Regions from separate parts of the Homo sapiens genome. Here region 2 is linked to region 1. Evidence: promoter capture Hi-C in 16 types of primary human blood cells and fetal thymus (Javierre and others, 2016). All regions are on one chromosome and are shown on one strand. Each heading gives the region's core, a stretch centred on a gene start or on the middle of the fragment in contact. The rest is flanking DNA. Distances are from core to core; before and after follow the strand shown. Region 1 holds the start of POLR1A (RNA polymerase I subunit A). Region 2 overlaps RNF103-CHMP3 (RNF103-CHMP3 readthrough).

Region 1 (3,792 bases), core at 1,210-3,709:
TTGGTTTTTACTCTGAGTGAGATGGGAAGCTATTAGAACCTGGCACAATAAAAGGTGGCAGTATTATTGAAATGTCTCAACTCTAAACTTGTTTGAAAACTCCACAATTATCTTTTTAAAAATTCAGGCAACTTAAAACACTTCTGCTTTTGGATGAAATCGTATCCACTTATGGCAGTGATGATATAATTGGAATTTCTGGGCTAGCACACTGTTACCAATGATACCAGAGCTGTGGCTCAGGAGTTTATTCATCCATTTATTCAGACTTGAGGATAAAAGACAAGAGTGACACATATAAGAAGCTCAAGGATAGTGGAGGAAGACAAATATACATAAGCACAAAAAGTCACTAAAGCACCATGACAGACAACTGTATCATGTGCAAAATGACCTCACAAAACAAGGGAGGTGAACTGAGCTTTCAGGTGTGTATGTTGGGTAGGGGACAGAGGGAAGTACCTCCTTTTGGCTGAAAGGACACTGCATGCAGAGGGAATAGCTTAAAGAAAGGCCCAGATGTTGAAATATGATGGCGGTTTCTGGAATATGCAGGTGGTTTAATAGGGCTGAAGAAGGGATGATGTTATAGCTAAAATCAGCATTGGTCTGATCATGGGAGACTTTGCAGGCTATGCTAAGAAAATATACTTTATCTGAGGGAAATGGAGAACATTTGGAGGGTTTTAAGGGTGACAGTAGCATGACTACATTTGCACTTTGCAAGAATAATTTTGACAGCAGTGTGGAGCATGCACTTGAGAGGTGTAAGGGGAGGGTGGAAGGAAAAGACAATTCAAATATGAGATAAGGGCCAGAGGCAACACAGTAGCAATTGGGAGAAAAAGGAGACTAAGAACAAATAGACATGTAGGTGACACAAAGTAAGAGCCCAATAAATAAGTTATATGTCAGGAGAGATCTAGAATAATTTTCCAGTTTCTAGTGACTATTTTGCACTACGTACACCATTTTGGAGGGGTAAGTAACCCCTCCCTTTGAAGAGGGATGCCGTGTTGAGTTTTTTTTTTTTTTTTTTTGAGACAGAGTATTGCTCTGTCGCCAGGCTGGAGTGCAGTGGCACAATCTCGGCTCACTGCAACCTCCGCCTCCTGGGTTCAAGCGATTCTCCTGCCTCAGCCTCCCGAGTAACTGGGACTACAGGTGCCCGCCACCACGCCCAGCTAATTTTTGTATTTTTAGTAGAGACGGGGTTTCACCATGTTGGCCAGGGATGGTCTCGATCTCCCGACCTCGTGATCCGCCGGCCTCGGCCTCCCAAAGTGCTGGGATTACAGGCGTGAGCCACCGTGCCCGGCCATGTTGAGTTTCTGATATGCATTTAGGCCATGTTGAGTTTTTGATATGCATTTAAGATCTCTGTGTGAAATTCAATTAAAGATGTACAGACAGCTGAACAAATGGGTCTGAAAATCAGGGAAATAAATTTGCGTTGGGGATTTAAATTTGAGACTATAAATCATGAAAGTGGTGAGATTGTCTAGGGACAATATTTACCATGAAGAAAACATTACTAGAATAGAATCTTGAAGAACATCAACATTTAAGGAGTAAAATGAGGTACAGACCTTGCTCACCAATGTGTCATTAACGCCTAGCTTGGTGCCTGGAAAAAACTGGATGCTCAATAAATGTTTGTGAGGTTATAGATCGATAGAGGAAGAGAGGGAGGTAGAAGTATTTGTCATAAAAATAGGAGAACTTGAAGACAAATAAGGTTCTGGAAGAAAGGAAAGTTTCAAGAGAGTGCATTGGAGAATGTCAAATGCTACCTTGATCAAAATGAAGACTAAAGAGAGTTCCCTTGATTTAACAACCAGACCGAGAATATAGCAGGGTCCTAGCAAAGAGAAGTTAACGCCTGAACTGACACTTGAAGGACAATCATTTTACAAACAAGAGGAAACTTACTACGTGCCTAATTAACCATGTCAGGTACACTATGGTTAATTCCACAAATGCTTGTTAGTTAACGAGGAGACTGGCAGATGATAACGCTGCAGACCAGGACCCTCCCCACCCTTATATTCCCCTACCTCAGCGCAAACTCTTTCCCCCAGCACCACCGGCCTCTTATCCAGGCAGTCCACGCCGGCCCAGGAACGTTCCCAGAACTACGGCTCCCAGCAGGACAAGCGCCAGACAAGCCTGGACTCAAGAGGATAGACTGGGCAAAAGCGCTTCTGGGAATCGTAGTTTAGGGCGCCGACCTCAAGATCCAGGCTGGGCACGCTACCCGACCAACTCCTTACTTGAGCTCTTCAGCCGAATACATCCCGAAGGAAATGCCCTGCAGCCGCCGCCAGGGCATGTTCTTGGAGATCAACATCCTCCAGGTCCGTTTTGAATTCCGACACCCCAAGAGACGTTCCACTCACCACCTGACTATTCTTAATTCAACCTCAAGCCCGGAGTCACCACGCGATTCAACGTGCGCTTGCGCGCGGAAGCGGTCGCAGGAACGACATTTACGTGGATGAGATCACTTCTACATGGGGGGGGAACAAATAGTTGTACGACTCTCTGCTCGCTCTTTTGTTTTGAAAACAATCAAAGATATATAAGACATCAAAATAATCATTTAGGAAAATTCCTCCGAGGCAAATCGGGTGTATAGAGCTTTTAGCTTCCGTGACGAAGTCTTTCAAACCATGAGCTTGCAACCTCCCATTTTATGATTGCTTTCGTCTTCTTCCGCTTCAGCCAATAGCGGAGCTGTTCCCTGCTCCCCGCCCACTGCGCCCCACCTTCCTGAAGGTCGAGGCACGCTTTCCCAACATGCTCTGCAGAGAAATCAAAGATGGCGGTTGTATCTGCTGTTCGCTGGCTGGGCCTCCGCAGCAGGCTTGGCCAGCCGCTGACGGGTCGGCGGGCGGGTTTGTGTGAACAGGCACGCAGCTGCAGGTAAGAGACGCTTAGGGTATCCGCGAAGAAGACCGCGGAGTCACCTTAGTCCTATGTTTCCCAGCTGGCTGTGGAAGTAGGCACGATGAAATGGTTTGCTCATGCGCGCCCTTAACGGTCGCGTGCCCTTAAGACCAGGTACGCGGAGGTGGCCCTTTGAAATAGGATTCGCAACGCATTTATTCATTAGAGAAATACTTATTGGTTGCTTGCAATATTCTGTAGTTAACACCATCCGCAAAGCTAGGACCCTGCTCTCATGAAGCTTGCGTTCCAGTGAGTGTGGCTATTAGCAACACTACCCCAAATTAAAAATTATCCGCCATTACTCATTTTAACCCAATCAGGAGGAGCGAGGAGAACGTACAAGATCTTCCCAAATAAAAGGCAGTCTCTGGTCGCCACCGTGGGGACTTTGGCTAAAGAAGTTATCAGGTTTTCGTAAAAGCAGAAAAGTCTAAAAGATCTGACTATGCCCTTTTGATCTGTGATAGTTATAGCTTGGAACATGTATGACCTATCTGTGTAATTTTTTTTTCACTCAGTACAAACAGTGGCATTGTGGGAATATGAGAGGCAGTAATTTGTAGTGAAAACTTGCTAAAAGCCTAATTTTAGGTTTAGTGTTTGCCATTCACTTAATTGGATGATAATAGACAGATTTCCTCATCTGCAGACTAGAGTTGGTAATAACCATCCGAAAAGTTTGTGAGGTATAAGTGGGGTATGTAATTTACAATATGTTTTTATATGTACTCTCCCTTAGTTCCCCTCAAGAAAGAGAAACCACTCCATCTGATACTGCAGAAACCTTTGTGCTGCCATTCAATGCCAGTCCTCCGTTTCCTGGTAGCCATCGTTAGCATT
Region 2 (3,405 bases), core at 762-3,261, 520 kb after region 1:
GGACAAATGCAATAGGAAGGATACAATAAAGAAAGGCCATGGATGAACAATGTAAATCTCTGGAAGAATTCCCAAACCTCAACCCTTTAGCACAGTGGACTACAGTACCATTTTATCCTTTTTAGATGTATATGTATTTATTTGAGGCCACGTGCAACAGAAAAATATACCTATTTACAATCATACTGCTAGTCAGTGACAGTACCAGACCTGTAACAGCGACAGTACCAGACCTGCAACTAATGTCTCTGAACTCATAGCTTTTCCTACCATATTTTGCAGTCTTTACTCTCAGAAAGAAATATGAAGAAACTGTTTTAATTTTCATGCCCTGAATCAAACTTTGCCCACTCCAGTGTGAAATGATAAGAGTACCAGTCAAGAAATCAGAAGACCTGGGTTTCATCCTGGTTCAATACTACCAACTAGTTCCATGACCTTGGGCAAGCTACTTCACCTCTCAGAGTCTCAGAAAGGGTTAGTCTGATATAATTTCCAAGCTTCAGCCATTCACAGACTACATTAATAATTTTAGCCACATTCACGCTGTTAATTTACTTGATATGTCACTTTGAATGTACAGTTTTAAAATGTAAATAACTTTAGTCCTGTCCTAAGCAAAATTTATGAAATTTATGTTAATATAATTTTTCTAATTTACATTAAAATATGTAAATGATAATGCATGCCCACTCACCATAAATTACATCTTGGAAAGCATAAAATATTTTTAAGGTCCATCATAGCTCTAAAATTCTAATATGCTAATTAAGTCTCACAGTTTTGCTATCATAAAAACAAGGGTTAAAAATTATAATCTCATCATCCTGAGTTACGTAATGAGCACCCCCACCATTTTCCACAACAGCTCCTCTATAGTCACAAAGTTGGCTATTTCCCTAATACAATGATTCCTTTACTTTTACTTTAGGGTTCTTACTTATATATAAAAATTACTCAGGCCACTGAATTAAAAACTGGAGATAATAAAAACTAAGAGAAACAGTGCAAATCACTAAATAAAAGGGATATATATGTGTATTTCTCAATTCAACAAAGGTCCAATAACTAAAATAGATTTGCTTCTGGGGATTCTAAACAAAAAGTTGACCCCCATCCCCCATCTTTCTCTTTCCCACTACTCAATTTTCATCTTCCTCAGTCTCCAAAACCTTTTTAAGAAGATACTGGAGCCTCCCTAAGAGAACTGAGTTATGTGTGAGAAACAAGACACAAGGACACGGAAGTGTCACTGGCTGGTACATACTATTTTGGTAAAAATAATTTTTTTAGGGCTCTCGAATTATCAAATTATTACTGCTTTTCATACCTGAACCAGCCAGATGCCATCTTTTGTGTCTTCCACAAGCTCATAGAAGTGCATTTCACCACTGAAATTGGTACTAGAAACCGATTCGGATGCTTCTTCTTCCTTGAGAGCAGAATAGAGCTCACCCTCCATCAAGTCACCTGAAGAAAGGAAAAGAATAACACTAATAAGGTTGCAAGAATCCTAGATTCCCAATTTCAGTAATTCTATTTTTTACACTGTTAAGAATCATGATATTGTACTTTCATTGTATTTTATAGACAAGAACTACTAGAAGAACCTGGATATACCCACTTAGGAGTCATACATTCAATAAATATGTAGTAAGAACTTCCTATGCATCAGGGAAAAGTGAACAAAATAGACAAAAATCCATCTCTTATAGAACAGGGCTTATATTTTAGTGGGGTTATCACATAATTATTAGGAACTTACCAAATTTGTACCACTCCAAAAAGGCACAACTTTCTTAATTATTTAGTTTTATGAATGACACATACAGGCTTCATATACATTTTTAAACAGTATGGCTTATATGCTTCTTACTTAAAAGATGTAGAATTGGGTTCACAGAATTTGCCATCAGCCCTGCTTAAAAGAGCAACAGGGTTTGTATGACTTGGAGGTTAGAACTTTACCTGTTAGACAGAACAAACTCCATATTCATATACAAATTTATATTATAAATTTAGAGCTTGTATCATTAAACAAAAAGGAAAGGAAAACACTAAAATCAAATTATTTTAACTTTCGCCTTAAATATTAAACAGTGAGAAACCAAGTACTGCACCATGATAGCAGCAAAACCATTCACAATAAACACTTAAATTTTAAACTGCTATACCATGACTTTTCTGCCATAAAACGTGTGATTTGAGTCATACTGGGCTGTGCGTCTTAAAGTTAAATGTGGACTTCTAGTACATTCAATGTGCCAAGTATTTTTAGGCCCAAAAGAAGGCAATAATAAATAACAGTCAAAAGAAAAAAAAATGTGTGACCAAATTATTTTCCATAAAAAAATGATGGCTTTGGCAGTTGAGACACTTCTCATCTCTAAACCAAGAGAGTTTATTTATTAGAGATCTTTTACCCTAGTTACTCCACTTCTTCCCCCTATGGTAGAAATAAGAATCGCCATAAACCAGTCAGCAAACAAGGGGCAAGAATAATATACGATTTTATATTTTCTCTAAAGAAACATTTATCACTTCTGCAGAGTGTGTTCCTCTCCTCTACCCTAATAGTGAGATATGAGTTTTATAACCCGCAACCTACAAATATCCAAGTGTTAAACTGCTAGCGAGCTCATACTCTTGTCTATCACGCTACATGTCTATAAGGTACTAAAGAAGGAAAAGATTTGTCTTGTAAAAGATACAGCTGACAAAAATACTTGAAACAACAAAAAAGATAACCATCAGTTTCAGCTGCTTCCCACAGCAACGCAGAAAGCCTTTCTCAAATTACATTCCACTTTCAGGAAGTATATCCAAAGATATACTTTGTGCAGCAGTGAAAAAAATTAACCATATTTCTCACCCAATCCTACCAAAACCAACAATTACTAAAAACACATTCTTTAAGACATTGAATATTCTCTCAGCACTATTTCACGTATATTTCTCAACCCATTAAACAATGCAAGGGTACCTGTGACACAGAAGACAAAAAAAATTTTTCTTTTACACATCCAAGATGCAAATTTTTAAAAATCCTAACAGAAATATAATATAAACTCGAACATGGCAGGCATTTATACAAAATGCTCGCCTTATTTTCACCAAACTTAAAGTCTGAAAAGCTAATACTGTACGGTGTATACTGTCTATATTCAAACTCATGATTTAACATTTAAATCCTAGGCCCAAGTGCCTCTGATAGTAAGTATTCCAAAGATGTGTCCCCACTCTGGGTATCTTATTATTACTATCGTGACAAATATTGCTATTGACAGACAACGTTTTGGAGTTTTTCTTACGTTTTTATGAACTTCAACTGACAAATAATGCTTTCCAGTTTGTAACTAGTTGATATTCCAGAATTTTGAGAAAATCACTCAACTTAGTAAACAA

Evidence for each region. Contacts are between HindIII fragments. The CHiCAGO score rates a contact against its expected background, and 5 or more counts as called.
Region 2: a fragment that was not itself captured here is called in contact with the fragment with the promoter of POLR1A in region 1 in 1 of 17 cell types (fetal thymus); the score reaches 5.3 in fetal thymus.

Annotation. Positions count from the first base shown.
Region 1 is chr2:86,103,427-86,107,218 of GRCh38, forward strand. It overlaps POLR1A (RNA polymerase I subunit A), which reads right to left and starts at 2,460. Exons shown (of 34, transcript NM_015425.6): 1 at 2,274-2,460. The coding sequence starts at 2,350. PTCD3 (pentatricopeptide repeat domain 3) reads left to right here and starts at 2,809. Exons shown (of 24, transcript NM_017952.6): 1 at 2,809-2,925. The coding sequence starts at 2,822. RefSeq lists enhancers at 1,980-2,069, 2,270-2,479, 2,860-3,119. The HindIII fragment of the contact is 4,349 bases long and covers 1-3,188 here.
Region 2 is chr2:86,619,000-86,622,404 of GRCh38, forward strand. It overlaps RNF103-CHMP3 (RNF103-CHMP3 readthrough), which reads right to left. Exons shown (of 8, transcript NM_001198954.1): 3 at 1,331-1,470. The coding sequence starts at 1,462. It overlaps RNF103 (ring finger protein 103), which reads right to left. Exons shown (of 4, transcript NM_005667.4): 2 at 1,331-1,470. Among named protein-coding and RNA genes, the nearest start is that of RNF103, 3.2 kb to the right of the region's middle. The HindIII fragment of the contact is 3,027 bases long and covers 499-3,405 here.